Linked DNA regions of Homo sapiens: all the other regions are linked to region 1. Evidence: promoter capture Hi-C in 16 types of primary human blood cells and fetal thymus (Javierre and others, 2016). All regions are on one chromosome and are shown on one strand. The core of a region is centred on a gene start or on the middle of the fragment in contact, and the rest is flanking DNA. Distances in the headings are between cores, read along the strand shown. Region 1 holds the start of NRCAM (neuronal cell adhesion molecule). Region 2 overlaps LAMB4 (laminin subunit beta 4). Region 3 holds the start of LAMB4 (laminin subunit beta 4). Region 4 overlaps NRCAM (neuronal cell adhesion molecule). Region 5 overlaps NRCAM (neuronal cell adhesion molecule).

Region 1 (3,075 bases), core at 325-2,824:
TATGGAAAATGGAGAGATAAGTTAGGAGCAGATTGTAAAGAGGCACACCAGGAGATGTGGAATTTACTTTGTAGGCAATAGAGAACCAGCCCACCAGCCCAGACTTTCAAGTAGGGGGATCATGGAATCTTTTTTTTTGCGGGGGGGAAGGTATTTTAGAGGAAAATTTGGACAATTAGTTGAGAGGTGCAAGGTACCACCTGAATGGCAGTTGGGTAAGGACTAGAGTCAGAAGAACCACTGATGGGACTGTGGAAACAACTTGTGCAATGACCCAGCAGCCAGATATCATGCTGGTTCAGGAACCGAGGGAGGCTCTGTGAGGCCAGAGCACATTTGGCTGGAGAAGGAGGAGAGGATGGCAGTAGAAGGAGAAGGAAAAGAAGGCTGCTCACTTGCATGCAGATGCTGTGAGCTGACGGGGCAAGTTCAAATTGAAGTTAGAACAGACCACTGGGGTAGTCAAGACCTTGAAGGATGAACCTGTTTCTTTTTCATTCCTGAATCTTGCCCCAGCACCTTGGAGGCTGGGGGTGGAGGAGGTGGTGAGGTGGGGTGGGGTGGTGAGGAGCTCAGAAAATGTTTTCCTGAATTAGAGAACTGAAGGAATCAAGGCTCCGCTGAGCTCACTAAGCGCTGGAGCCTGCTGTAAGTGGTCAAGTCGGGTGATACCCAGCAGACAAGTAATTTGTGTGCAGACCGGAGTAGATTACGGAGGACCCAAGGGTCAGGCTAAGGATCCTGAACACCATCCACGATAGAGTGGAGACGTGCGCTTCGGAGCCTGAACTATGCAGCAAGCAGTGTGTTTACTCAAATACTATACAGTTGGAAAATCTTAATTCTCGATTTACATTGCCAAAAAAAAAAAAAAAAAATCTCCATAATACTCCCCCATTTGTAAATAAGCAAATCCGAACTAACCCTATTCCTTGGGACCAGAAGACCCAGTTTCTACCGCGGATAGATAGCATCCGCCTTATGCTAAAAGCTCTTTTTTCTGCGGTGGTGGGGGGCGGCGGGGAGTGTTTGGAAAGAACGGTTGCAAAAACAAAACAAAACCCCCAAAACCACTCACCCAATCTCAACCACCCCAACTGATGAATTTCGAAGAAAGTGCTTTTTAAAAAAGAAAAAACTAGAAGACCACAGACCTCCCACAGAAAGCTAAACCCATGAGAGTGGCATTCAAAAACTACCCATTTTCTGGAACATCTTTTGTAGCTAAATCCCAGCCATCCTAGCCCCGGAACACTCCCGCCCTCCGTCCCCGCACCCCCACCCCCGCCGCCACACGCGCTCGCAGGCTGACGGAGGTTGGCGGTGGGGCGGCCGCTCAGGTGAGGGGCCACCCAGTCCCTCGAGGCGCCGGCGGCTGGAGCCCATTCGCTGCCGTCGCAGCAGCAGGGCAAGAGGGGGTTGGCCAGGAGGGGAGGAGGCGGAGGACGCCCGCAGGGAGTGCGGGGGAGGGGGACGGGAGGACGCTAAGGAGAGCCGGGAGGGGCAAAAGCACGGCGCGGGGAGGGGGAGCGGAGAGGGCGGGAGCGGCGGGGGCGCGCGCCGGCGCGGGGCCAGCCTCGCTTCGCCAGGGTCGCTGGCGGACGCGCGCCGCAGTCCGAGCCTCAGACGCGCGGGCGCGGGGGACGGCGCAGGGGCCGCCTGGCTGGAGCAGCCAGAGGGGATAGCTTCGTCGAGAACGGAGGACACCGGCGGTCCAGGGTCCTGGGCAGTCGCGCCAGAGCTGAGCGGAGGGCGCGGCGCGAGAACGTAAGTAGCTCCTTGCGCGTCTGGCGGTGACACTGGGTCCTGCTCGGGGGTGACGGCTGGAGCGGAGGAGGACGCGCGAGGCTGCTGCGTTGTCACTTGGACACCGCCGCGGGGTTCAGCCGAGCGCTCACCGGGCTGGCAGCGCTGCAGGAGGGGCAAAGCAGATCTCCAACTCCCTTCTCCCCTGCAGGCCCCCGACACTCCCGCGGGCGCCGAGAGGGAGCAGGGGGACCTGCGCTTGGGTGAAGGCACAGCTGAAATCCAGCAGCGCCGGCACCCACCACCCCCTCCAGCCTGTGGCCAACTTCTGCTCCGCGCCCGCACCCCACGCTTTCCGGGAAGCCCTGCCCAGAGCTCTTGCTCGTGGGCAGTTGGGCATGGAGAGCCTGCGGGCCCGGCACGGCGGCTTCCCGGGCTTGGACACGGAGGCGCGGGGCGTCACGCCACAGTGCCGGCGGGGCGAGGAGCGCGGGGGCCGGGCCGGGAGCGCACGGGCGTGTGCCTGTTCGGGCCCCTGCGGACACGTCTGGGCGTGGGCTTTGTTCGGAAGTGCGTACACCTGTGCTGACCACGGAGTTCGGGGGCGAGGCCGACTTCGCTTCTCCAGTCGCTGCCTGGAGAGGGCTCGGGGAATCGAGGCGGAACGAGAGAGACACGGAGGACAGAGGGGTGGGGCGCTTGCGGGGGCTTTGTCGGCCTTACAGGTGCGGGTCCCGGGAGTCCCTGCGCCCCGCCCTGCCTCCGAGGGCTGGGACTTGTCGGGGCCGGCGCACCGGGCTGGGGGCTGCCTGGAAAGATTGCTTTCCCAGCCCAGGCTCTTAGCGGTGGGATCTGGCATCCGCTCCGCCCGGGATGCTGTGTTGAGCCAGGAGTGATTACCCGCCCTGGAGCATCCATCTCGCAGCGAGCGCCATCTGCGCCGAGCGCCGCCCCCGGCCCCCTCCACGCCGCGCGGGTGGGCGCTGCCGCATCCTGGTCCCAGGCGGTTGGCCAGCTCAGCTACTCCCGGCCCGCATCTGCTAGAGTGCGGAGGGGGACGGGGTGTCGCAGTAGGGTGAGCAAGGGAGTCGTCATTTCTCCCAAAGCGGTGTCCTCAGGGCCGCAAGCGCTGCTGGAGGGCTCCCCGGGCCCCGGGGCTGGCGAACAGGCCGCTTCCTTCCCCGGATCGCCTCCCCTCCCGCCCGCGCCCGCGGCCACATCTTCGTCCCCCGTACGCTGGCGGGTGGCCCCTGCGCCGCGGGCACCGAGGGAGGGCGCCGAGCGGTGGCGTTTCTTTCGCACCCCGCCTCTCTCCTTCCCTTTTCTTCG
Region 2 (3,075 bases), core at 286-2,785, 360 kb after region 1:
AGCGGTTAGTGGAGAACTTTTCTCTGTGGTTTGCTGGGTTTATCATAAAGGACCAGCAGGGGGCATTCACATTTTCCCCACTGGAACAAACACGGGGAAATGGCAAGAAATTTAACGCCAAGTTGCAAAAGTTTTTTTGGTTTCCACTAGACCTCTACATACAAATCCATTAAATTACATTATGTGTTTCTGCAAGATTGATGTCATCTTAGGCAATTTTCAAGTGGTGGTTTGTTTATTTATTTATTTATTTATTTGTGAGACGGAGTCTCGCTCTGTCACCCAGGCTGGAGTGCAGTGGCTGGGACTACAGGCGCCTGCCACCACGCCCGGCTAATTTTTTGTATTTTTAGTAGAGACGGGGTTTCACCGTGTTAGCCAAGATGGTCTCTGTCTCCTGACCTCGTGATCCGCCCGTCTCGGCCTCCCAAAGTGCTGGGATTACAGGCGTGAGCCGCCATGCCCGGCCTCTTTTTATTTTTTAAATTATGTTTCCCCTTTCTTCTCACACCCCTTCTAATATTGGTCCATATGTTCTCTGATAAAAGAAAAAATAATTAAAGAGCTCAGGGAAGCGGGGGAGCGGAAATAGAAAAACACCTCAGCAGTTTTCTAAGGCCAAATGAGCAGACCCTTAGCTATAGGATCACAGAAATTTAGAGCTGCTCCGGGCCTCCGTAGAGCTACAGATTCCTCAGAAACCCTGGGTAAATAATTTCCATTTGGTCACAGCCTCCTGCTCCATATTTTTGCCCATATAAGGAACTGTGGATTATTTGCATGTTTAGAAAACATTGGTCTGAATCTTTCTGTAATAAAACGCTCTTCTTAAGTTTGATGGCAAAATTAAATGTCATGATAATGAATTATATAGTCAAACCAATTTCCCATCATACCTTTCAGCATTCCACATGTTTCTCTGACTCTCTGACTAAAATGATGTCCTCCAAGAACAGGCTGAACATTATTTTGGTGTGTGGGGGTGTATACCAGCTTTAAATTTTTTTTTTTTTTTTTTTTTTTTTTTTTTTTTGAGAGAGACAGAGTCTTGTTTTGTCATCAAGGCTGGCTTACAGTGGCACAATCATAGCTCACTGCAGCCTTAAACTCCTGGACTCAAGCAATTTTCTCACCTCAGCATTCAAGTAGCTAGAACTACAAGCATGTGCCACCACAGCCATCTAATTTTTTTTTTTTTTTTTTTTGAGAGACGGAGTCTCACTGTGTTTCCTAGGCTGGTCTTCAACTCCTGATCCCAAGCAACCCTTCCGCCTCACCTTCCCAAAGTGCTGGGATTCTAGACATAAGCCACTGTGCCCAGCCCATAACAGCTTTATTGAATATAATTTACATACCATACAATTCACCCTGTAAACAATTCAATAATTTTTAGTATATTGGAAGTTGTGTAATCATCACCACAATCATTTTCATCCCCCCACAAAAGAAACCCCTCTTCTGCATATATACCCAAAATAATTGAAAGCAGAGCTTTGAAGGGATATTTGTATTTCCATGTTCACAGCAACACTAGCCAAAAGGTGGAAGTAACCCAAGTATCCACTGATGGATGAGTGGGTAAACAAAATGTGGTATTTACATACAATGGAATCTTATTCTTCCTTAAAAAGGAAAAAAATTCTGACACATCCATCAACATGGATGATCCTTAAGAACATTATGCAAAGTAAAAGAAGGCAGTCACAAAAAGACAAAGACTATATAATTCCACTTATATGAGGTACCCAGAGTAGTCAAAATCAGACCGAAAGCAGCACGGTGGTTGCTAGGGATTAGAGGGGAGAAGGAGTGGGGAGTTATTATATAAAGGGCATAGAGTTTCAGTTTTGTAGGATGAAAAGCGTTCTGGAGTTTGTTTATGCAACGATGTTAATGTGCTTAACACAATTGAACTGCCTGCTTAAAATGGTTAAGATGGTACAATTAGTAATGTTTTCAAGTTTTATCCATATTGCAGATTACATCGGTCTTTATTTTTTATTGCTGAATAACATACTATTGTACAGAGGTGCCACTTTTATTTATCCATTCATTAGTCAATGGGACATTTGGGTTATTTCCATGAACGTTGGTATTTGCTGCAAGTGTATTCCTTGCTCTGGTAGCATGTCTTTTTAGCCTTTGCAACATATGCAGGGCTCAGAAATGTCTACGGGTAGAGGAGAAGAAGGAGGGGGGAATTAAGACAAAAAGTAACAAAGTACTAAAGGAGAGAAGAGAGAGTGGGATTCCAGATGCATCTGCCAGAGAAGGAGCGATCAGTAATAACCATGACTCCCAGAAACTCCTGCCTCTGAGTCACCAGCCTGGTCAGCATCACTTAGGGTTACTGTGCCAGTACTGCAGCATGTACAACTAGCTACACCTACTTGTCTCCTCCTCCTAATTGCCATCCAGTAAAACTACATGAGGCTCTGGAAGTGCCTGACACAGGATTTCCTCTGTGAGGTTATATGCAAAACAATAATCACGCAGCCAGGCACACAATAAACCTGGCAGGGCAGGCTTCTCTGTGTTCTTGCGGTTATGCTTCTTGCTTTGTGTGAGCTATTAAGTACACTTGCAAGAGTGGAGGAATTAAGAATGAGAATAATTGTGTATGCTGTGCTTTCAGCCTGCGACTGTAACCCCCTTGGGAGTCTGCCATTCTTGACCTGTGATGTGGATACAGGCCAATGCTTGTGCCTGTCATATGTCACCGGAGCACACTGCGAAGAATGCACTGTATGTATTTGCCTATAGTTTCCCTTTTCTATAGTGATACAGATTTCTATTGCCATTGCCTAGGTAAGACTTGGTTTTGCTAATCTCTTTCTTGTCCTATTGTGTTTTAATACTCCAGTGGTATGAGTATTTACACTACAGAAATCAGCAAACACTACCTATCAGCCTCCCCTCACCCCTGCATTGAGCTGCCTGTTAAACATTTACCAGCTCACCACTGGACTGGACTAAACCGACCCAGGCACAGATATTATTAGGTTTATCCACTCTTTTCCTGAAAATGCCAAGCAGTAGAATAGAAGCACATTTATCTGTCTATGTTTTGGGCCA
Region 3 (3,075 bases), core at 344-2,843, 330 kb after region 1:
CAAGACATGCCATCAGTTTACAGGAAAACAGCCTACGATAACCTATTCATGATTATTTAAAGGGAAATTTTTGAAATTTGAACCATGTAACTTTGATTCTCGTCATAAAACTGGAGACACATATAACAGGAAAACCCCTCAAGATATAATCAAATCACTCAAGAATGCAACAAGCTTTTAAAATTTACATATCTCAAAAGGCAAAAAAGACAATATGAAATTCCAATGTTTGAAATAAGTTTAAAAATTATATAAATTTTAATGCCTAGAGTTTATGCTTTGCACAATAATTTAAGAGTCTAAAGGGAAAATAGTATTGGTCTAATAAAACAGATCACAAACCCGTCAATTGAACAAACTGAAAGTCCCTTGATTTCACTCACACACTTTGCTGAAGTATCCACCTAAAAACCAAATACTGCTCTTTGGTCTCCTACCACCTGGTACTTTGTGGCAGCTGTTGGCTTGTAAAAAATAAATAAAACAAGTTAGTTTAGCAAATATTGACTGCAAGCTTCTTCTATACTTCATCCTAAAATGGAAAAGACATGTTCCTGCCCTCTTGGAGTTTGCTTTCTAGTACATCAGAAGTGAGCAGATGAACCTGACCTATAGGGAACAAAATTAAAAACAGTGGCATCGATGGAAAAATAGAGCAATAAATTAAAACACAAATAACAGGTAAGAAGCATTGAAAAATACCCTTGAAAAAGCTTAAAGGCCTGTAAGAGTGGTATTTGGTGAAAGTTTGTTGAATCTATTTCCTGATTTGTAAATGTTGTGTAAAAATGAGCATCTCATTTTGGCTCAGTTCACAATCATTTTTCTTCCCTAAGGGTATTTTCCATGAGCTTCTAGAAATCCTAAATGTTTTTTCAAGCAACCAATAAACTTACCCATTGAAACTGCACAGATTTGAAATGGAGATATTAATCCACTGACAAGTGAATAAAATGTAAGATTGCTGTAGGTTCATTTCTATACTATAAACCTTCCTCGTAGGAGAATGAAATTTCAAACCACATGGATTCCAAAACCACTTAAACTTGCCATTCCCACAATGGTTAGTTGTACTTGCCGAATCACAAGGTAAACAGAAATCTATGAGCCATTTAAGATGATCTTGAGCCAGGTAGGACTGGTCAGAGCCTTGGGAACCCATCTGAAACTATTCCACCTGGTCCGCCTGAAAGTAGATTGGGATGGAGTCAGGGGTCTCACATTCCTGAGAAACAAGCCCATCTAATTCCGCACATTTTATAGCTGGTAAGTATCAAGCTGTCTGAAAATGACCGCTAAAACATGAACCAGAAAAACATAAATAAATCAGGGAACAAAATGTCTGTGCATTATTCCTGGCTATTAAAATTGGTTTTAGAGAAAACAAGAAAAATATTTGCTGTAAAACTGAGCTCTATTTCCCTGTTTATGTGTGTGTGTGGGTGTGTGTGTGTGTATAAGTTAAAACTTAAGTGACTTCACAAATCACCTTTTTGACAGGCATTGGAATACCTCTTGTCTTTTTTTTTCCCTACTTTTAGGTGCCTCGGGGAGAATGTTTTCTACATAAACTGGCTCTAACTTTCAGGTGTGTCTTCACATGCCCCGTTTGCTGCCTGAACCTCTCCACAAAGACTCCCAGATCCTGGTAAGTCTTGCCTGCTCTCTCACTAGCAAATTGGCATTTTTATGGATTAAATGAAGGTATTAGAATTTAGGGGGTAAGTGGAGTTGTCATAAAGTAAGAAATGGGACATATTAGCACATAGATTACTATTACTTTTACAGAATGATAGTCCAATGACACTTAAATAAAGGTTCTTGCAACATAAAACAGTATCCAATGGGAAAATTGATGTTAGTGCATTGTGATATGAAGCCAACAACTTGAGCCTTACTGTACCTTGAAGGGAGCTTCAAATGATGTAGTGTTGAAATGTACAACTGTATTGTGTTTTCAGCAAATGTTTGTTTTTGTTATGGTTATAAAACTTATGACAACTTATAAAAGTTTAAATGCATTAGAACTACCCATATTTTCAAAATATTTTGTTAATGTTCTAGATATGTGTAAATATTGTTTTAAGAAAAGCAAGTCTGCTATAACTAAAAGAAACATAAACTTGGCCGGGCATGGTGGCTCATGCCTGTAATCCCAGCCCTCTGGGAGGCCGAGGCAGGCAAATTGCTTGAGCTCAGGAGGTCAAGACCAGCCTGAGCAACATGGCGAAACCCCATCTCTGTAAAAACTATACAGCCGTAGTGGCACATGCCTGTAATCCCAGCTACTCAGGAGGTTGAGATGGAAGGACTGCTTAAGCATGGGAGGTTGAGGTTGCAGTGAACCAAGAATGTGCCACTGTACTACAGCCTGGGTGACAGAGGAAGACTCTGTCTCCAAAAAAAAAAAAAAAGTAAACTTTATAGTTCTGTATTCTGCATTCCTCACTATGATGAAATTTAGGCAAAACAGTTGAAATATCTAATGAGTCCTGACATAACATGAAAAAAAGTTAGACAAAGGAAAGTTAAATACAAGATTTCTGAGAACTGTCACTTTATAGACAATTATTTGTGTACCAGAAAAAGTCTTAAGGGCTAATATAAATGTATTTATAATTATCTTCTGTGTTATAAATTACTGTCCAATTTGCAGAAGAAAGGTGCTGTAGTAGAAACAGGAGCGGAATGCATGTCTTTCCTGCGGAGAGGCTCTTATCAAACACGATGCACCTGTGGTTCTAGGAGCTGGGCAAATGGGCACCACATGGCCCTTTTCTCTTCATCTGTTTCATCCAAATTGTTTTGACAAAAAAGAGTAAACTCTTTGCAGCCTTCAAGTGAGAGCAGATGAGGCAAATATAAGTGAATGGTCAGTAAATTAAATAAATTAGCAATGCCAGAAAGTTACTTTCAGTCTAATATATTTCACTGTTTATTGCAACACTTAATACATTTTAAGACCAGTGTCATCTAGCAGCATTCATTAAACGGCTACCAAAATGCACCCAGCGCCTTTGGAAATACGTTTATACATATCTCATCCAAAGGAGGGAAAATGTTTTGTTTATTACT
Region 4 (3,075 bases), core at 270-2,769, 300 kb after region 1:
CAACCTGGATATGAAATATTATCTTTTTCATAGATTGCTAAATTTGGTTTGGTCATGGTTTGTTTGGGGTTTTTTCATCTATGTTCATGAATGAGATTAGCCTGTAGTTTGACTTTCTTAAAGCATTCTTATTGGTTTTGGATATCAATGTTATACTAGCCTCAAAAAATGATTAAAGGAGTGGTTCTCATGACATATTCAAACTTTAATATCTCAAAATGGAACCATTGATTTTCCCCTCCCAACATGCTCCACTCCATAGTAACAGTACTTCCAAGCTTCCTGTTGCTCAAACCAAAAATCCTGGCACCATCTTTTTCTCTGTTATTCCATGTCTAACCTATCAGAAAATCCTGTTGGCTCTACCTTCAAAATATGTTCATAATCTGAGCATTTTATACCACCTCCAGTGTTCCACTCTGGTCCAAGTCACAGTCATCTCACTCCTGGATTATTGTAATATTCTCCCCTGACTCTATAGAGCAGAGGTTGGCCAACTAAATATTTTAGACTTTACAGGCCGCGCGGTCTCTGCTGCAACTCTGCAATTCTGCTATTGTAGTGCTAAAGCAGCCATAGACATTATGTGATAAATGGGCGTGGCCTAATTTTACTGTAGTTTACCAACCCCAGCCCTCTAAGGTAGGCTATTCTCAACACTGATGGCAGAGTAGTGCTTTTAAAATATAAGTCAGAGCATGTCACTTATTCTTTGAAACCCTCCCAGGGCTTCCTGTCTCACTCAGAGTTAAAGGCAGCGTCCTTACAATGTTCCACAAGCCCTGATTTAGCCGTGCCACTCCCCTTACTTAACTCCTACTTTTCTCTCTCTCTCTCTCCCTCCCCCCAGCCACACCAAGCTCCTTAGTGTTCCTAGAACCTGCCAGGCTTCCCCTCACCCCGAGACATTTATACTGCTTGTTACTCCTGCAGGAACTGCTCTCCCTCCAACTATTCACCTTGCTAACTCAACTCTTTTAAAGTTGTTGACCAGATATTACTGCTTGATGAGGTCTTCCTGGACATCTTATTAAATGCCAGCTCTCCATCCCTTCTCCAACACCTTCTGCAGTCTTTACTCAGCTCTATACTTTGCATAGTGCTAATCCTCTTCTGACATAATATATATGTAATTTTTTTTATTATGTTGATTGTTAATTGTATTTTCTTCCACTAGAAATAAAGCCAGTGAGGTGAGGGTTTTAGTCTGTTTTGTTTGCTGCTATATTCCCAGTGCCGAGAACAATCTATCTTAGAGTAGTCACTCAATAAACATTTATTGGATGAAGGCATGGGTGGATAGATGGCTAGACCAAAGAAATGCCACAGATGACAAATTTCCAGCAGTGTATTCCTTGGGACACTAGTTCTACAGAGCAGAATAAGACTAGTCATTGGAATCCAGGTGACAAATTCTGCCTGTTATTGAACTCTTCAGCTGAATTAACTGTCACACTGAAACATGAACTATATTTCACAAGAAGGATTTAATAATTAAACCCCAGAGATGTTGTGTAGGCTATTTTCATAACAGGTTAGACACTCAATGCTATGTCCTCTGAAATGCTCACAAACACAGACCACCCCAAGATGATACCTCTCCAGTTGTTTATTAGCAGTGGTGAAAATATAGTTTATTCAGTTTGCAATAAGAAATTGTGTATTACTGAAACAGGTTGTTTTCAGTGGCATATGCCAGTGTCATATTATGCTAGCATTATTTCCCAGTCTTCAGATTTTCTTCTTGGAGAAAAATTGAAATCCCTAGTAAAAGTTATTGTCAAAAGAGCCAGGATACTTGTGCATCTTGAAATGTTTGTATCTTGGCTTGAAAAAAAAAGTCACTGTCTGAAACAGAGGGAGCAGTAAAGTCTTAGCAGAAATTGCTAGATTAAATACTGCAGCCAGTGATACCTTTTGTATGTTAAGGCTTTTTCATTTTTACATTAGTAAAAATGTATATGTTTCCTATTTTGCCTTGCATTTTTGTTCTTTGAAAGAAAACAAAATGTTAGATCCTGTCATTGCCTTTTTCTATTTTTTTCCCAAATGTTACCTATTAAAAAATAGGTCAATATGCATAACTAGGTATTTGACCGTATGGGTGAACATTCAAAAACATAATGATTACTCTTTGTCTTCCAGAAATTGTGCTTACGGGTTCAACAGAGAAATAAGCAAAAATTGTAATAATGGAATCTTGTAAAGTCGTATTAAAGTACACTCCTCAGATTCCCATCCAGTATAGTCAGGCTGCATAACACACAAGGAAGAAGGGAGCTGGGGGGTTAACATGAGTGTAGGAAGCATTTGCTATTACATGTTTGGAGTCATTCACATTCTTTAGAATATATTGGCATGCCATTCATAGTACAAATGTAGAGCTTTTAAGTTAAAGTGCGTCTCTTTCCAGATTAATAAATCTTTACTCATTAACTAAAATTTTTACCAAAAAAACAAAAAAATACTGTGTACTATCAGTATAAGGATTTTGCTTTTCTTCTTAGGCTGTTTTCATTTGTTTCTTCTGCATCCTTTTAATGGAATTTTGTAGGTCTCTTGAAAGGTAAGGTTGAAGTTTACAGTCTGGCCTGCATTGATAACAAAATTATTTGAAATGCAGGATTTTGCTTCTCCTTCTGGCTCAGAAAAAAAAAATCCACATTTCACACTTAACCAAAATCATGCTCCATTCACAACCAAGGAATCAGAGATATTATGCAGTTTAACATACTAACTTCTTTACTTGCCATAAGCTTTTGCCTTTTTGAATTCAAAATAGTGATGATTTTTCTACTTTTCTGAATTCTTTCTTATTTAATGCTTGTGATTATTTCTGGATTGCTTTCAACTCAGGAATCAGAATTTGTCATTGAAATTAACAAACACTATTGGGAGCCATCCACTCTACTGAAGACTTCATGATTCAACCATTTCTGCTCCTGATTTCCATTCCAACTCATCCTCGTCATTGGAGTCAACCTGAAAATTAGATTTGGCCAGAGAAGCCCAGGACTCCAAATGCTTTCTCATAATTTGCATGCATGGTCTTTAAAAACAGAAAATGTTACCTAA
Region 5 (3,075 bases), core at 363-2,862, 290 kb after region 1:
GAATAATATTCCATTGTGTAAATATATATATATATGGTAATTTCTTTATCCATTCATCTGTCAATGGATATTTAGGTTGTTTTCATGTCTTGACTATTGTGAATAATGCTGCAATGAATTTAGGAGAGTCGATACTCGTAGAGATAATGATTTCATTTCAATAAAACTAGAAACAAAATAATAATAATGAACAGTTTAGAGAAGAAACTCTGAGAAGGGAGCACCCATAGAAACCAATGTAAAATATAAGAAGAAACTAAATGCTTTTCCGTTAGAAGTATTTTGCTCTTCTGTTAGTAAATGCTCTTGTGTTAGAAGTATTATGTTTCTGCCTTGAACATCTTCCATATTACTCCAAGATTAAATTCCTGTTTCAATATTCCAAAATTTTTTAAGAAAATTAATGTTTTTCCTGGGTTGCCATTGATGTTTTACACATGTGTGCATATTTACTGTCATTGATTGATCATATTCCTATTATTTTACCTATAAGAAGAAAATCTCGGAAAACTAAAATTAATTAGGTCCACAGAAGGACTCTGCATAATTCAGTAATCAGTTTTGCCCTCTGCTGTTTCCCCATGCTTAGCACAAAGAGATACAAAATTTGCATGTGTTGTTGAATTATATTTCAGAAGTCAAAAGCATTATTTAACTGCTTTAATATCTTTCTTTTCTTAATTCTAAGAAATGTAATTTTATTACATTTATTTGAACAAAGGTCTTGAGCGTCTACATTTTATAAACATATCTTAGAATATAATTTTAGTGTCTTGGTAAACCTATTGATGCTGTCTGATTGACTATCCTAGTAAATTTTATGTGAGATAATAAATTGATCTTCTTTTTTAACTACCCAAATTAACACATCTGTAAATGTTTCATTTTTAGTTTAAGCTATTGAGGTAGGACTGATAGAATTGCCTGCCTCAGGTATTCAAATAACATTTTTTAATGACTTTAGATGTTGTCTTTACCCAGTAGCAAGCATGTAGCATCATCTGGTCTCCATAATTTGGATTTTTAAGAAGCTATTTAGGTTGCACTATGATTTTTCAGAAAATGCTTTGTAACAAACAGTTAACAGGTAAGATTGTCTTGCTCTCTAGGAAATGTTACATGAAATAGTTTTTACTCCTTTTATTTATTCTTTCTTAACTTCTGATAGAACACATCTGGAAATTCCTTTTGCAGCTTCTCTTCCAACATACCCTTACCATCCATCATTCTCTAAAGCAGGGATTTCTTACCTGGGGTCCCTGAGTTTCCCAGTGATACTCAAAGAAGTCTGTTTTTTAAAACAGATCAAAAACGCTGTTCAAAGGGGCATTCTCTGTCACACCAACACAGATTTTTTAAAGACCTGCATTGAGATGACAAATAGGTTTGAAAAGTAGCCACATAGTATTGGGTTTTACCTTGGCGTCTCTGACATTCCATGATGACGTCTGTCCCTGGGATTGTTCAGCAATCCCCCTCTCCATCACACTTTAGTAAATGAAGACGGTGACATTTCCCGGGACTGTATCTAATGGACAACAGTTAACATTGTTCAGAACCCATATAATAGAACTCACAAATTTTAATATTATGCGTCATTATTTCTGATTATTAATTTCCTAGTGCTGAATTTAAGAAACAAAAACCTTTCTGTAATGAAAGCAAAGCATGAGTGAACCCTAAATTTTAGCAGTAAATTCTATTTAATTCTATTTGCACAATTTCAGAGTATTTAAACTTATTTTATATTCGTGTGTATGGTGTTGCAATATGATTGTTTGTTTTATTTTTCTATTGTATGTTTAGTTCAAGCAGTAAATCCCAGGATCAGCAATCTTACTGCTGCAGCTGCTGAGACCTATGCCAATATCAGTTGGGAATATGAGGGACCAGAGCATGTGAACTTTTATGTTGAATATGGTGTAGCAGGCAGTAAGAAACAATTTCATTACCCGATTTTTAATTTGGGGGATGCATTTTTTAAAAGATTAAAAACATTCTTAAGAATTTACTATGGATCATCTTGAAAAATAACTTGATCCAATTAAATGAATGAGTTATCTAAAAAAATTATAGTGAACCATCAGCCTACCACATATTATATGCACGACTAGGAATTGCTTTTTTATGTTATTAATAACAGAGGGCATATGTTCCATTACGTATGTTATTTTCATATCATAGTACTTGAAACTAGTTCTGTGCCCACAACACATAAACAAGAGTAAGAAGGAATAATTATATTTGCAAGTACAATAGAAAAGAAGAAAAGGTTTTTTTTTCAAATTGGATCTTGAAGTAACAGAAATCAAACTGACTTGAAAGTATTCATTTTGCCCTGACTAGCCCAACAGAATTTTATAAGAAACCGCAGAAAATTAATACTTTGGGAGAGCATTCATTATGTTTTAACGTTTGATGTATTCTCAAGTCAGGCACTCTTCGTAGATCCTGGCCACATCTACTGGGAGATGGGGCAGCTTTCACTTTCAGCAGTTTATGAAAAGCCAGTACCCCCCTCCTAAGTGCAGTGTGCTTACATAGAACAAATGAGGTGGCCAATAAATGTTTGTGACAAAATGTTGAACAGAGTCCAACTTTCTGTTTAAGCCTTTATCATGCAAGTAAATGTTTTTAGAAATGACGATCCCTTTAGAAAAACCGGTACTTGGGAAAGGTTGAATCGATTAATTGGATACGTTGGAAGGCATTTAAGTTTACTAAAAGATTCATCTTGTGAATCATAAAAAAACAATTCTTCCCATAGTTCACTTAAGCTAATTAATGTGTATCAGTTCTTTTGAGAAACATCTTTAGAGAAACTCAACAGTTTCATAAGGCAAGGTGCAGATAAAGAACCTTCCTTTGTATTAAAGAGGAGAATTAATACAATGGGAATATATACAATTAATAAGCAAGCTAGATACCCAGTCTATTTTTCTTTGAGGATATTTTCCTGTAGGTCATTTTAATTGATTTGTTTGACATGACTACATTTATAATAATCTAAAATGGTAAACCTAAGCATCCTACATCTTGTCTTTAGCTTATAAAGAATTTTCCTTTCTTGAAGCA

What was found. Contacts are between HindIII fragments. The CHiCAGO score rates a contact against its expected background, and 5 or more counts as called.
Region 2: a contact is called between a fragment that was not itself captured here and the fragment with the promoter of NRCAM in region 1, in 1 of 17 cell types (fetal thymus). The highest score is 5.1, in fetal thymus.
Region 3: the fragment with the promoter of LAMB4 here is called in contact with the fragment with the promoter of NRCAM in region 1 in 3 of 17 cell types (naive B cells, total B cells and endothelial precursors); the score reaches 6.5 in naive B cells.
Region 4: a fragment that was not itself captured here is called in contact with the fragment with the promoter of NRCAM in region 1 in 4 of 17 cell types (endothelial precursors, total B cells, erythroblasts and 1 more); the score reaches 9.2 in endothelial precursors.
Region 5: a fragment that was not itself captured here is called in contact with the fragment with the promoter of NRCAM in region 1 in 9 of 17 cell types (total B cells, megakaryocytes, naive B cells and 6 more); the score reaches 11.2 in total B cells.

Annotation. Positions count from the first base shown.
Region 1 is chr7:108,454,935-108,458,009 of GRCh38, reverse strand. It overlaps NRCAM (neuronal cell adhesion molecule), which reads left to right and starts at 1,574. Exons shown (of 33, transcript NM_001037132.4): 1 at 1,574-1,767. The HindIII fragment of the contact is 7,436 bases long and covers 1-3,075 here.
Region 2 is chr7:108,094,898-108,097,972 of GRCh38, reverse strand. LAMB4 (laminin subunit beta 4) reads left to right here. Exons shown (of 34, transcript NM_007356.3): 12 at 2,636-2,745. Among named protein-coding and RNA genes, the nearest start is that of LAMB4, 34 kb to the left of the region's middle. The HindIII fragment of the contact is 3,277 bases long and covers 1-3,075 here.
Region 3 is chr7:108,128,879-108,131,953 of GRCh38, reverse strand. LAMB4 (laminin subunit beta 4) reads left to right here and starts at 1,593. Exons shown (of 34, transcript NM_007356.3): 1 at 1,593-1,648. The HindIII fragment of the contact is 5,422 bases long and covers 716-3,075 here.
Region 4 is chr7:108,150,186-108,153,260 of GRCh38, reverse strand. The region is part of intron 32 of NRCAM (neuronal cell adhesion molecule); the gene reads left to right. Among named protein-coding and RNA genes, the nearest start is that of LAMB4, 21 kb to the right of the region's middle. The HindIII fragment of the contact is 2,478 bases long and covers 281-2,758 here.
Region 5 is chr7:108,167,134-108,170,208 of GRCh38, reverse strand. NRCAM (neuronal cell adhesion molecule) reads left to right here. Exons shown (of 33, transcript NM_001037132.4): 29 at 1,807-1,932. LOC102724363 (a long non-coding RNA gene) reads right to left here. Exons shown (of 4, transcript XR_002956579.2): 3 at 1,419-1,528. Among named protein-coding and RNA genes, the nearest start is that of LAMB4, 38 kb to the right of the region's middle. The HindIII fragment of the contact is 6,018 bases long and covers 1-3,075 here.